Linked DNA regions of Homo sapiens: regions 2, 3, 4 and 5 are each linked to region 1. The links are contacts of gene promoters, found by promoter capture Hi-C in human tissues and cell types (Jung and others, 2019). All regions are on one chromosome and are shown on one strand. The core of a region is centred on a gene start or on the middle of the fragment in contact, and the rest is flanking DNA. Distances in the headings are between cores, read along the strand shown.

Region 1 (2,835 bases), core at 165-2,664:
CATCCCACCTTTCAGCACAGCAATGTTCTTCCCTAGTGTCTCCAGTGCTCTGCCAGGCTCAAGTCAATCAATGGGGCTTCTGCCACCACCCTGGGGAGACTATTTGCAACCTACAGGGTTCACTGTTTGGAATTTTATTTTCCTGACTGCATGTGCATGGGAAACATGCCATAGGGCTCTATGAGCACGATAATATAGATATCGTGCATTGTAACCTCAGCTCTTTGGGCTCCTTCCCAAACATAATGAACCTCCCAGCGTCAGCTGGGCAGGCAAAAGTCCTCGTCATCTTCTGCAATTATGCAGCCCTATTGAATTTTCTGAAGCTAATAGGAGTTGCACTAACTTTGAGGACTTAAACCAGGCAAAAGCAATATAGGTCAGGCAGGGAGCCCAAACCCTCTGACAGCCATGCAACACCAGGAGGCAATACCAGAGCAATCTCTAGCTCAACCCCAAAGTCCATTGCTCAACTCCACAAGACAGAAACTAGGAGAGGTGGCATCATTCCCTCTGCCTGCCACTGCCAGGCACCAGGGCAAGAGGGTTGTATGAGAGCAAAATGGTCCCTTTACCAACGGACACACCAAAAAGGACAATGAAAAGGGGAGAAAAATCACCGAAACCCTGCACTGTTACCTTGAATCCTTGCAAGAGCCCTCCTTGCTGTATCAGCTGCTCCCCAAACCTTCAACGACTGGGAGGAGACTCCTAAAAGATTCCAGGTTTTTGTGCAACATCTCCAGTGGCAGCTTTCCAAAGTTTTTACTTCATGATTTCTTGTGGTTCTTTCTCATTTGGGGAAACGCGAATGCCTCCCCCTCAGCGTGTGAGAGGGAGCGGATGTCTCTTTTCAAATTCTCTTGCTCCCCGCTTTACTGTCGGTGCCGCCGCCGCCGCCACCGCCACCGCCGCCAACGTTAGACCACTTGCCTGCTGCCTTCCCGCTGAGCAGCCAGGATCCCGGTCTCCCAGAGCATCTTTGAAGTGGGGCTTCGGCACTGGGCCGGGGCGCACGCGGGGTGGGAGAGGTAAGGGAAGTGCAAGACCCAACTGGGGGAGTCCCCTGTCCCTCCGCCGAGGAGAAACCCAAGATTTTGCCTTCTTTCCAACTCTAAAGAGACTCACCCACCCGCTCTCTCACCCGAAATCACTGCCTTGCACATGGGCAGAGACAGGTCTTCCGGCTTCACCGCTCCCTCGGCTGCCTGCAGACCTGCCACTGACCTCGGAGCGCACGGCAGGTGCACATCCCCGGGCAAGTCCTAATGGGATCCTCCGAGCTCAGCGTAAGCGCTGCCAGCGCAGCGGCGAGCAGCTTGCGAGGCAGGCGGATTGCATCCCAGAGCTGCAGCCCGGCGCGTCCCCGCTCCGACTCCGCGCTCCGTACCTAAGCAGTGTCACCTGCAGACTCAGACACCAGATGAGTGTCTTAAGATAACAATGCTGCCCTGCCTGCCTCTCTCTTTCTTTCTTATGCATGTAGGTTGGCAGCCAATGGGACACAGCGCCACACTCCCCACAGGTGCCCATTGGCTGGGCGGCTTGGCAGGGGGCGGGCTCTGAGCCTCACCGCTCTCTCCTTTGGTGAGCTGGCAGGCTGGGGTACCAGCTCTGTTAACCCTCCCAGCGTTGCAGTGGGGACTTTTTGGTGTGTATAAGGAAGCCTTGGGTACATTCACGGGTGGGGCGTTGGACACTCTTAAAAAGGCTGGGGAACAAGAAGTAGCTGGGGAGCTAATTACATTTTCTTCTAATCTTCCTGAGTTACAATAATCATTTATCCCAGCCCATTTTGTTTGCTTGCTTAACTAGAACTCCCAGAGATTGGGACCCATCTGAGCCATTTTCCATCTAATTTGAGGTTTCATTTGGTTGTTTTGTGCATTTTTTAGCCTCTTGGATTACTTAATTAGAAATGAGCCCCCAAGTGAGAAATAGTACACACACACACACACACACACACACACACACACACCCCAGAGACCCAAGAGGAGAGAGAGGCAAAAGAGAGCAAGAACCCAGTAAGATGGCTAGAGAGTGAAACAGATTTAGAGGCCAGGACAGCTAAATCAGGAAACATTCTGCCCCCACACCAGGACTGTAAGGACAAAGGCAAAGAGGAGAACTTCAGGTTTCTGGGGAGAGATTAAGTTTCAAAAATGTCCCTCCAAAAAAGGGAATTGTTTTGCCTGTGGTGTTTTCCCTCTGTGTGTCTCCTTTCACTTCTGTGTGTGTCAGGAAGAGGGACTGTGCATCTCCGTTTAGTTTTTAAAGGAAGACTAGAGAAATCAGAACAGGACCAGCCTTGTTTCTGTGAAGCAGGTGCTGTTGCTGGGCCTGTGAATTGAAAGAGAGGGAGGGAGGAAAAAAGGGAGGGAGGTGGAGGGAAAAGGGAGGAAAGGAGAAGGGAAGAAAATATTAACTTTACATTGAAGTGTGAAGTATATATTTTTGATATCCTAATGAGGGTACAAAACTGAAACATGTCCCGCTAACTAGCATACTAAACTAGATTTTGGCAGGAGCATAGGAAAAAGAGTAATAGTTGAAGAAAAATCCAATTCAAGGGAAGAGCTGGGGGCTGGAGCTGGGGAAGGAACTTGGGAGATCCATGCTAAGTCATGTGGTGGGGGAAGTATGAAGAAGATAAATATATAGTCAGAAAGCGAGAGGAGTCTTTCAATTTAGTTTCCTTAAATGGAGAGCAACATCGGAGATTATTTTGTAAAGAACTAGAAAAAAAAAGTATGTAGAGATTTAATGAATGTGTAAGAAGTACACATGGAGATTAGCTAAACTGCATCAAGTAGCCGTAAGTTCTGAATGAATAAA
Region 2 (3,089 bases), core at 157-2,656, 150 kb after region 1:
GCATACTAAGTCTAGTAGAGTTCTCCTGCTTTTTTCACTTAACATTCCATCATAACTTTTCCAGAATCATTAAATAATCCTCAAACACATAATTTTAATGGCCATTTGGTATTCCGTTGTATGTCTATATCATAGCTCATTTAAACAGTCCCCTATTATTTGACATTTAGGATGCTTTAAATTTTTATTTTTATAAATACTATTAAAATGAACATCTTTACACATAAATGCTGGACACATTTGAAGTTATTTTCTTCAGATAAATCTTAGTGAGAGAGTACTGGGTCAAAGAGTAGGAACGTCTTCAAGTCTGTTATACTATCAAATGGAGCTGGGGTTTCCCTGAGGGAGGGTTCAAATTCTAGTGTGGCATGAATTAGAGCTCTCCCATTGCTCCTTGGGTTCCAACAAAGCCAGGAGCATGGATCTCTTATTTCAGTTTGCTTTGCACTTTCACTGAAGAAGACATTCACCTACAGTAGTCTCTATGATGGCTTGTTTTTGGTAAATTGAGTACCACAAATAGATCCTTCCCAAAGTAGTATGATCCCTTAGAGCAAAGGAAAGCGTTAAAGTGATATCTAAGATTCCCAAGCTAAACGTTGCTGGAGTTGGGGCCCAAACCCTGAAGCTTTTTGTACAGCATGTGCAGCCACCCCCCGCCAACCCCCTCTACCCCAGCCCACCACACTCGCATCTTCTTCAGGTGCTGAGGTAGAGAGATCTTAATAGAGGATGAGTCTAAGATATCTAGCCCTTACTTCTGTTATAATCTATGACTAGATCCCTCTGGGAGAGTAGCAGGTAACTGAAACATCTAAAATTCACCATCTTAGGTGTTAAAGTTGTTTTATGTGGGCCCATCACAGAGATTCTAGGCCCCCATATGGAGGAGAAAGTACAACATTTTAAACATCTGAAGTCTAAGACTGTGCTTACTTGCTGCTCCTCCCACGCTGTCAGGCAAACACCAAACCAAACAGATGGGCTGTGTACCATGCCCAAAAGCTAGTATGCTTGGGAGAAATTAAAAAGAGCTAATCTCAGAGGTGGGGGCTCTCCATGCAACTGAGCTAGTCTCTGGTACCCTAGTTCTCCAGCTGGCTTGGATTGGAAGGATTTGGGACAATCTCAGTTGTTAAACTCACTTCTGAGAGAAGCTTGATCCCCGGGGGGAGCTTTGGATGCTCCTACTTGGATTTTAAAGAAAAGGAAGCACACCTTCAGTTACATGTGAAAAGAAGGGATTGGTGCTTTAGGCTTGGAGGGGTCTCAATGATAAACTGCCTCTATGCTTTACATTCACATTTGAATTCCTTAAGAAGTTACACGATTTGCCCAAAGTCCCACAGCTACCTAAAGCAGAGTCTGTGTTTTATTTATCATGAAATCTGCAAAGGTGGGATTATAAAGGTTGCTTAATTTCCCCAGACATGTCAGATCCAACATAGTTGTCATTCAAAACTATTTAAAAAACAACCATTACTAAGCATTACTGTTCCATGTGCCAGGAAGCTGCTTGTCTACAGCAAAGCTCTCCCATCAACTCTTCAGTCCCTTCCAGATGTCTCATTTCTAATCCCTGCTGAAAATGACTTTGGGAAGCCCCTCCCCTGCTAATAGCTTCTCAATGTCTGTGACCATGAATGAATTTCCTATTGGAAAGACACAGAGGAAGACTAAAAATAATCTCCCAAACCCCAAGACAAAACTAAGGTGCAGCATCTTCATTTTGGATAGCAGCTGAGAAACAATACTGCAAAGACTCTCATTTTCATGAATGCTGGAATTGGAAAGCATTGGTGATGTGGTCATCCCACATGCTCATCAGTAAGAAACTTTATCGCCTCCCACACTCTATCCCAGAGCCTTTCTCCAAAGAGCTGAGTGTGGGAATTGGCTTCAAGTCAAGTCGACGTTATTTTTGAAATCCTCTAGCTAGCTTACTTGGAAATGTCATAGTGTTGGGACATGTGCTTTCCCAGCCATACTGAGGGGTCTGCCCATATGGATGCATGGAGCTGTGCAGTGCACTTGTGTACTTTTACACACACACACACACAAACACACAAACACAGATGCTCAGTCACTGCAAAGGAGCAGCCTCCTGGTGCCAGAGCTCTCCTCAGGCATCCTTCCTAAGAGCATCCCCAAGTGAGTCTCTGTTTACCTGTCACCTGCACCATGCTTCAGAACACCAGGTGTGAGAGACACAATAATGCACTCCCAAAAATGTCCACATTCTCATCTCCAGGACCTGTGAATGTGTCACGTTACATGGCAAAGGAGAATTAGTGATGCATATGGAATGGAGGTTGCTAAACAACTGGCTTTAAAACAGGGAGATTTGGGGGGAAGATTATCTGAGTGGTCAAAATGTAATCACAAGCATTCTTAGAAGTGAAATAGGGAGGCAGAAAAGGAGGTCAGAGTGAGGTGATGTGAGGAGGACTCAAGCAGCCATTACAGACTTTGAATATGGAGGAAGGAGGCATGAGCCAAGGAATGTCAGCAGCCTCTAGAAGCTGGAAAAGGCAAGAACACAGAAAATAGATTCTCCCGGGTGCCTCCAGAAGGCAACATAGCTCTATAGACGCCTTGATTTTAGCCCAGTGAAACTCATGTTAAACTTCTGGTAAGATAATAAATGTATGTTGTTTTAAACCACTTTCTTTGTGGTATGCTTTTACTGTAGGAATAGAAAACTTATACACTAAGGAAGGAGAGAAAAGATAGGCCAGGCGTGGCAGCTCACACCTATAATCCCAGCACTTTGGGAGGCTAAGGGAGGCAGATTGCTTGAGCCCAGGAATTCAAGATCAGCCTGGACAACATGGCATAAACCCCATCTCTAATAAAAATACAAAAAATTAAACAGGCATGGTGGTGCAACACCTGTAGTTCTAGCTACTCAGGAGGCTGAGGCAAAAGGATTGCCTGAGTCTGGGAGGTCGAGGCTGCAGTGAGCCGAGATTGCACCATTGCACTCCAGCCACAGTGACAGAATGAGACCCTGTCTCAAATAAATAAATAAATAGAATAAAAAGACAATACAAAAATAGAAAGAAAAAGCATTGTTTTGCTCCCTC
Region 3 (2,954 bases), core at 57-2,556, 130 kb after region 1:
GAAAAACATATAAGTGATTGTTGCTGTATCAGAGAGAGGGTGTTTACCCCTGACCTTGGGTCATTGGTATTTAGACAAAACAGGAGACATGAGCTACCAAACTCTTGTATGTGATTCCTATTTTGTAACCACTATTTAATTCCTCAAGGAATATAATTTGAATTCAGTATGTCTAGTTGCCTTGAGGAGTAATTAATTCTGTCTCAGATTCCCTCTTCTTCTTACTCCTAAGGTAAAAGTAAGCTTTGAAATGTGAGCTGATTGATTGGCTGTAGTCTCTTGACAGATGGTAGCTGGAAGCATAATCTCAGCTTTTCCATTTCTCTGCCAAGGGTTCAGAAAGCCCAGGTGACTCTCTAAACTTGGTGACATTTAATAGATCCAGATTCTTTTATTCGAAGATTTATTGATTATGTGACACTGATTTGAGAAGGATTCCACTGGTCCATGGGGGTGTTACCAGAGTATTACCTCTAGCCCAAGATATCTTCATCTACCAGTTTCTTTGGTTTGAAGAAGAGAAGTAATGATGGGCCAGCACCTGTGATCTGTTTTTGTCTTCCTTTTATGCCTGTGTTTATCTTTAAAAACCAAATTATGTAGATTAATTTCTTTAACTAAAATATAAACTCCATGAGATCAGGAACCATACGTGTGTTATTCACCGCATTATCTTCATAACAGTGACCACTGAAAAAAAATGCCTTGCTAAAGTAGGTATCAGTAAGTGTTTATTGAATGATTTAGTAATAAATTGAATAAATGAGTCACCCAAGCAGCTGACTTATATAAGATTAGCTTGTAGGCACAGAGAAGATGACCATATTGAAATATATTGAAAGTTGATGATGCTTCTTCCTTTTCTTCCTTTTTTCTTCCTTCTCTTCCTCCCTCTTTGCTTCCCTCCTTCCCTTCCTTCTTTCCTTCCTCCCTCTTTATTTCTTCTTTCTCCTCTCCCTTCCTTCCTCTGTCCCACAATTATTGACCATCTGCTTTATGCCAGGCGCTGCGTTTTAACCTGGAGCTATAAAAGAGATAGATTAGACATGGCCTCTGCCCCATGGCCCCTGCCCCCTATAGTCTAGCAAATGAGATAGACAAGAAAATCAAAGGTAAATGTACTTGTGGTTAGAGTTATGTGGAGGGTTCTATGGAAAGTGCAGTGAGACTAGAGAAGGGTTAGCTGAAGTCGTGTCACTGAACTGACTTTGAAGGATGAGTAGGAGTTAGCTGAAGGAGGGAGGTATGACCCAGGACCCAGGATGAATATACAGGTCAGATAATGAGACAGTCTTGTGGTTGGTCCAGAGGACTGGGATAAGCATAAAGGAGAGATCTGCTTAGAATTTTCCATCCTTCGGCAATTACCAAAAATGTTATGTAACACATTGTTACATAAAAATTCTAAAATCTACAAATTATCTGACAAATCTCATACTATTCTCTTAAGTAAGTGCTGAAAATGTCAATTTCATAATAAAATAAAAGCTGACTTCATTTGTGTGGTATCTATTACAGCCAGTAGAAATGATTTATTGATTTTTAAAAAGAAAAATGTATTTTAAAATGCCACATTTTTTTGCAAGGAACTCGTTAATAGATGTGGGTTTCTCATATACCCCAAACACACTTCTAGTTACCAAATGTTAACAGTTTTGAGAAAAAAATCAATAGAATAATCAGAAAATTCATGCAAAGATGAATAATGAGCAAAGCAATTCCATGTTTTGCAGCCAGTGCTTACAGTCAGTGTTTCTTTTTTAATGTTCAGAGTTTACAACTTGTTACTTGTTGCCTGAATCCAGATATACTGTAATGTTTTGTCTTTGTTTTTCCAATGGCTATAAAAATTGGAGCTAACACAAATAAATGAAGAATACTTTCTGAACACAGCTAGGGTAAAACAGAAACTCAAAGCAAGACATGTGCATGTGAAGAACTTCTGTATGCTCTCTGTAAAGCCTTGTGTGTGTGATAACTGCCCATTCTGTTTCTCAGTGTGCTCATGAGCAGATGTTGAGTAGAGGTCTTTTTGGAGCTGAGAATCCAGAGGACAATTGTTGCTCCCAATAAGCTGTGTGAGATATGTGCATCTCGCCTTTCTCTTTTCGACTTGGCTATCAGGATGCTTCCAGCCATAGTCTTTGGCCTAGGGTTTCTTTCCATTCCATCTGCCCCCTTTTCATTTCGCTAGACTCTTTGAAAGGAAAATCCTACAGTATCCATGATATTTACTGAAACTGCTTAAAATTCTCTGCAAAAGTAGTAAGATTAAAAATAATGAAATTGGCTGGGCTCAGTTCCTCATACCTGTAATCCCACCACTTTGGGAGGCCGAGGCAAGTGGATTATTTGAAGCCAGAAGTTAGAGACCAGCCTCCCCGACATGGTCAAACCCTGTCTCTACTAAAAATACAAATATTAGCCAGGCATGGTGGTGCATGCCTGTAATCCCAGCTACTTGGGAGGTTGAGGTGAGAGAATCACTTGAACATGGGAGATGGAGGTTGCAGTGGGCCAAGATCACACCTCTGCACTCCAGCCTGGGTGACAGAGTGAGACCCTGTCTCAAAAAAAGAAAAAAAGAAAAAAAAGAAAGAAATTATCCAAGACCTATGGTTTATTGAAAAATGTAACAGTAACTGAATGTGAGCCAAGTCCTCACTGTAGAAGGACAGTTACCAAAGTGGCTAGACCCCTGCCTTTTCCTAGTGTAGTGGTGGGCCTATATTTTCTTCCTACGTGCTACCTGCTCAAGCAGGTAGAGCATTTCAGAGAAATTTATGTGTAGTGATTTTACAAATAATTATTACAAAATATTATTAAATAATGTCACATATTAATGTCACATCACATTACAGTATATTATTATTTATGTAATAGTCCACAATTAGTAAGCCATTGCAAAGTATTTTGACATCTGTCACCAATTTGAGTTACAGAAGCAGAGAACC
Region 4 (2,824 bases), core at 115-2,614, 170 kb after region 1:
AGTATCTACTTCATAGATTTGTTATAAAGATTATTTTAAAAACCTAAATGAGATGAGTTGTGCTCAATAATATTACATGAAGTATGTAGGTACTCAATAAGTGATGGCCTGTTCACATTGATGATGCTTTGCATTGGTCACAGCCTCATTTGTGTTCTTTGAACTTTCACCAAATGATGTCAACCTTAATGTCAATTTGGCATTTGAGTTTAGAGTAACCTACTTCTAGAATGTAAATTCCATGAAGGCAGAAACAATGTCTCTTATGTAAAATTGCACTGTCATACCTTAATACACTGTCTGGAACATAGTGGATGTTCCAGAAGTACTTGCTAAATAAGAAATGTGTTTGTCTTCCCATGGTCTTTCATAAGCAATACCTAAGAATAATAGTAGCTACCACCTTTCAAGTATTACCAAGTCTGGGGGTGGTTTGGGCAGAACATCCACAGACCTCTGTTTTCTGAACCTAATTGGATCTTTAAATTATCTCATGGAGTGGTGAATCACCTCCCTAATTTCAGGAAGTAAGAGTAGGAATACCAGCTGAATCGCTGACAATTCTAGACACATAGAGGTGGAAGCCCACCTCAAGGTCATAATATCCAATCTGCCACCCATTGTAGAAATCCCTCCTACAGCCATTTCATCAGATGGCTGCCCAACCACTGTTTGAACACTCTTGGTAATGTGGGCTACATTATTTGAAGAGGCAACTCATTCCATCATTGTAATGCAGATTCTTAGACAGTTCTTTAGGCTGAGCAAAAATATGTTTTCCTGTAACTTGCATTTGTTTGGTCAGCTCCGTCCTTTGGAGCAATAAAGAATATGCTGATTTCCTACTTCTACGCTCAGGACTGCTGCCATATATAGTACCTTTGTGTGCATTAGAAAAATATACTCATCTACTGTAAAGTGTGGGATAGACGTCTGTGAGCAAATAGGACCACTATATACAGGCTGGCTACATGTTAATGTCTCAGATAATTGTGTATAGGATGATGTCTCTGCTGGCTCTTCTCTTCTAAATAGAGCTTGTTCCTTCAACTATTCTTTAGATCATAAGTTTTATGAGTCTCTTAAAGATCCTACTAGCTGTCTTTTGCATGTCCCTAGTTTGTCATTATGCCTTTTAGACTATGTTGCCCAGGACTGTTCAAATCACTATGTAAAATATGGCATGCCTGTTTCTTCCCCTGTATTTTCTATTAGTGAATTCTAAGCTAAGCTTGTGCTAGGATCTTTAAGAAAAGTCATGACGTTTGCTTATAGTAAGTTTGTGGTCAATTAAAGATCTTTCCTGCAGGAACTGTTGTCAAAAAGGCAAAGTGTATTCAAGACTGAAGTCAATTGTCTTCTTAACCTAGGTATAGGTCTTATATAAAATCATATTAAATTTTAGCTTTATCCCATTGAAATCCTTTGAATCTTGACTTTGTGATCCCATGTATTAGCTATCCCTTCTTCTTTATGTAATTTGCCAATTTAATTAACATACATTCGTATTACTCCATTCTCTTGCTGCTGTAAAGAAATACCTGAGCATGGGTAATTTATACAAAAAGAGGTTTAATTGACTCACAGTTCCACATGGCTGGGGAGGCCTCAGGAATCTTATAAACATGGTGGATGGCACCTCTTTACAGTGGCAGGAGAGAGAATAAGTGCCAGCAGGGGAAATGCCAGACACATAAAACCATCAAATCTTGTGAGAACCCACTCACTATCCCGAGAACAATATGGGGAAACTGCCCCCATGATTCAATTACCTCCCACCGGGTCCCTCCCCATACTGACATGTGTGTATTTTGGGAATTACAAGATGACATTTTGGGTGGGGACACAGCCAAACCATATCACCTTCAGTCACCTCGAAGTCACTGACAAAATTGTTAAAGAAAGCAAGATCAAGCCCTGCTTCACTTAGAGATCTTCCTGAAGGTTGAACTTAACCCCTTACTCAAAACTTCTTGGCTATGCTTGTTCAATTCCACATGAATTCATCAAGTATACTGATGATCATTGAACATATTTCCATCTAGTCCATTTCAAAGATTTCATCCTGTCTGGACCAGAAGGGGCATTTAATACATTTTCTAAACCAGTTAGTGCATGCTTTTCTAAAAATCAAAGATGACATCAGTGCCAACCTGGAGAAGTCTCCATAAATGGCCATGGCCCTAGCTTGGGATTTTGTCTTGTTAGTGAATCGATTGTAGCTCCTAGACATCTTTGGATTCTTTATTGTTTTAAAGAATTGATCCATCCTCTTTCTCTGGAGAAGGCAAAGCTGTTGAGATTTTGCCTCCACAGTCTCCATGTGTCTCTTAGGCCTTGTCTTTCTCTAAGCCATGTAGTTTTATGTCATTTAGAGTCTTGCTTTAAAAGGAGTTCTGATGGCAGGACCCTCAATAGTTTTTTATTTGATAAGTGAAGGTGAAGACAATAATAATAGGTAATAATTTACTGTCAGTTTACTCTGTGCCTAGCACACTTCTAAGAGTTCTACATATTTTAATCTAACCACAACTATGTGAGGCTATCCCCTCTTTATAGGTAGGAAACTAAGGCACAAGGAAGTTTGGTACCTTGCCCAAAGGTTACACCCATAGAAAGTGGCATCATTTGGGATTCAAGCCTAGGCATTCTGACTGGAGTCCATGCACTAAAACCGTCACGGTGCCGCCTGGCACAGAAGGCAGTACACTCTATGGATAAGCAGTTTTGTGGGTGACAAGAGGCCCCCATTTTATGTCTTGCTCTCCCTCTCACATCCTCCTTTGAAATGCGGGGTAATGTGAGTCAGACAGCTGAGCTCACT
Region 5 (2,973 bases), core at 418-2,917, 190 kb after region 1:
CAAGAAGGCTCACAGGGTCCCTGCCCTCGAGGGACTAACGCTCTGGCAAGGGAGTCACTGAAACAAACAACTAAATAAATACATCACAAGTACTTACAGATTGTGAAAAATACAAGGGGGTAAAAAGACAGGGAGGAGTGGACTAACCTGAAATGGGGGAACCGGGGCCTCTCTGAGGCAGTGTGTTTAAGTTGACACTGAAAGATGAGAAAGGACCAACCAGGTCAGAAGGGAGGGAAAGAGCTTTCCAGGCCTAGGGCACCCTGGATGGCCCTGGAATGGGAGAAAGCCAGGCCCCTTCTAGGGACTGTCAGCCACCATTGCTCTTATCATCATAGATGATAGCCACCATTGCTACATCATCATAACAGGGAGAGAGAGGCAATGGGCAAGGTTGGTGTGGTAGGCAAGGGCTAGAGCATGCAGGAGTCTTGATGACCAGGGTGAGGATTTAAAGCATGGAAGTTCCATGATCCCCCTATAGCCCAGGGCTTAACCCTTACTTTCTCAGAGAGGCTCCCCTTCACCATACATGCTCCAGGACTGTTTCCCTTCTTCAGAGCACTTTCCTCAACGTGTGGTTATATATTCACGAACTCCCTTTAACAGACCCCCATCAGTTTTGCTTCTGTTCACCTCTGTATCCCCAGAGTACAGAGCTTGGCCATGCCAGCTGCTGAATGCATATTTTCTGAACAAATGAGTGAATATTTCCTCATTTCTCTTAGGTATGATTTTTGGCAATTCAGCCTCTCTGAGCCTCAGTGAGTTTATCTATACAATAGGAATATTAAGTGATCAGTCACTGGACTTGCTTTTACTGTCTTCTGTTTCTGTGTCCTTTATGTTGACTCCCAGTCTTTATCTTTGTACTTGCCTCTCTTCTAAATGTCAGCTCTGCTTAGCTAGCTACCTGCCGCACACCTTGCCAGACGTTCACAGATAACACTCAGCCTTTTCAGTTCAACCTTATCATTTCTTGCCCCACTAGACCCTCCCCTTACCCCCACACACATAAAATCATCCTCTGGAACTACTTGTTTCTATTCATGGCAAAATCATTCTCCTAGTCCTTCTAGCTCAAAACTCTGAGGCCATCTTACACTATTTCCTCTTCCTCGACCACTGCTTAAAATATCTTCCAAGAAATTCTGCCTAAGAATTGCCCTTCTCTTCCAAATCCACGTCTTCCCACTGAATTCAGATCCTAAGTACTCATTTTACCTTGATTGCAAAAGGCTTCTCTACTGGTTCCTCTCCCTCTGGGTTTCTCTTTCCCATTTATCTTGCTTTCACAGAAGCAAAATCTTGGTGCTATCTTCCTGTATTCAAAGCCCATCAGTGGCTCCCCATTCGCTACCCAAGTATAGATTTGCTTTCAGGTACCATCATGTTATGGCTTTAATTTATTTTTTCCATCCCTGTGTATCCCACATTTCAGATGAACTGGTACCTTTGCTGTTTGTAATGTTCCATCACATCCACCCACCTCCATGCCTTTGGTCATACTATTATTTCTGCAGCAAACCTCCCTTCCTTCTGCACCTTCAATGCCTAGACTCAGTGCATCCTTCGAAGCTTAAAGCTTATCTAAAATAGCTCTTCCTGACTGAGCCTTTTCCATGACCCTTGAACAGGATGTGATTTCTTCTTCCTCTGAACCCACTCACTCCCATTTCACTTGCGATCTCTTCCACCCTGCCTGGAAATGAGGATGTCACCCCAAGTCATTAGCCTTCAGCCAGTGCAGCCCAGTGACTCTCCTTAGTTCTTCTGCAGGAGTGGGTACTGATAACTCACAGACGTCTTTGCCAGGGTTCTGGTGTCTGAGAGCTCTGGGCTTGAGCCCTGGCTCTGCTGCTTGTTAGCTATGAGACTTTGGCTTATGTTATTTAATTTCTCTAGGCCTCACTTTCCCCACCTGTTAAATAAGACTAATATAACAGCTGTGCCTCAGAGGGTCTTATGAGAATTAAGTGAAAAAAAGTACTTGGCTCACTGACTAGTATAAATGCATAAAAAGTAATAGCTTTTACTTGTTCAATCATCAAAATTGACAAAATAAATGCCATAGTTTCTCTACTTGCCATCCTTGTTTCATCGGCTCCTGATCCAGGACAAGGACCCGGCCTTTTATCTGTGTAGCCCAGTGCTCTCCATAGCACCTGTCTCATCAGAGGTGAGTGATAAACACTTGAGGAATGAATCAGTGCGTTAATGACATTCTTCATAGCAGAAAATGTGTATTAATCATTTCTGTGTCCCTTGACTGTATTTAGCCAAATGTTTTTTTATATGGAAACTGGATAATATTTTTTAAGTAAACAGATAAATGAAGAAATGAATGAGTGATTGAATTAATAGTGAAACTTGCTAAATATATGTTGAATTTAAACAGATTAGTAGATAGAAAAAGACTTTGGGAAAAGGATAAAAGCTCTATACTAAATATAGTTCCTTAATGGATATTTTATTCTTCCCCGGTTTCCTTATTTTGTCAATTTTTCCTGACATAAAATCACAGAAATGTAGGAAGCTATGTTTTCTATTGTACATCCTGTCCCTTATTATTCACTGTCTCTTGTGCTAGTACTGTTCATTCTCCTACCTTGTCACTGGAATTTAATGTGAGCGTCTGTGGTGGAGGAGGAGGCCCCAGGTTTGCACCGTACTTAGTACAGGGATGTAACATTCAGTCGTGAATATGTGTTAAACTGTTTTTCTTGTACAGGGATGGATTTGCACAGGTCCATTGCCAAGCTCTTGTCCTGTTCATTTGTGAGCAAAGATGGGTGTCCGGGGACACATGGCAGACTGTGCCCATTGACGGGAGTAAGCGAGCTGAACAAGCTTTCAGGACCACTGAACTTGAGACCTTGGCTATATGAGCCCAGGGTAAAAGTCAACTGAGCCTTGAGATGCAGAACCAGAGAGAAGTGGAGGGAGGAAGACAGTAGTTACTATTATCACCAT

The links. Contacts are between HindIII fragments. The study calls those that stand out against the background at their distance.
Region 2: a contact is called between a fragment that was not itself captured here and the fragment with the promoter of BRINP2 in region 1, in 2 of the 25 tissues and cell types used here (dorsolateral prefrontal cortex and hippocampus).
Region 3: a fragment that was not itself captured here is called in contact with the fragment with the promoter of BRINP2 in region 1 in 1 of the 25 tissues and cell types used here (dorsolateral prefrontal cortex).
Region 4: a fragment that was not itself captured here is called in contact with the fragment with the promoter of BRINP2 in region 1 in 2 of the 25 tissues and cell types used here (dorsolateral prefrontal cortex and thymus).
Region 5: a contact is called between a fragment that was not itself captured here and the fragment with the promoter of BRINP2 in region 1, in 2 of the 25 tissues and cell types used here (dorsolateral prefrontal cortex and hippocampus).

What each region holds. Positions count from the first base shown.
Region 1 is chr1:177,169,537-177,172,371 of GRCh38, reverse strand. BRINP2 (BMP/retinoic acid inducible neural specific 2) reads right to left here and starts at 1,414. Exons shown (of 8, transcript NM_021165.4): 1 at 640-1,414. RefSeq lists enhancers at 598-1,186, 1,187-1,776. The HindIII fragment of the contact is 8,375 bases long and covers 1-2,835 here.
Region 2 is chr1:177,019,834-177,022,922 of GRCh38, reverse strand. The region is part of intron 7 of ASTN1 (astrotactin 1); the gene reads left to right. Among named protein-coding and RNA genes, the nearest start is that of MIR488, 8.1 kb to the left of the region's middle. The HindIII fragment of the contact is 4,030 bases long and covers 1-3,089 here.
Region 3 is chr1:177,036,454-177,039,407 of GRCh38, reverse strand. All of the region lies in intron 2 of ASTN1 (astrotactin 1), which reads left to right. Among named protein-coding and RNA genes, the nearest start is that of MIR488, 8.5 kb to the right of the region's middle. The HindIII fragment of the contact is 5,935 bases long and covers 1-2,954 here.
Region 4 is chr1:176,998,677-177,001,500 of GRCh38, reverse strand. All of the region lies in intron 8 of ASTN1 (astrotactin 1), which reads left to right. Among named protein-coding and RNA genes, the nearest start is that of MIR488, 29 kb to the left of the region's middle. The HindIII fragment of the contact is 4,994 bases long and covers 1-2,824 here.
Region 5 is chr1:176,976,662-176,979,634 of GRCh38, reverse strand. All of the region lies in intron 8 of ASTN1 (astrotactin 1), which reads left to right. Among named protein-coding and RNA genes, the nearest start is that of MIR488, 51 kb to the left of the region's middle. The HindIII fragment of the contact is 4,223 bases long and covers 1-2,973 here.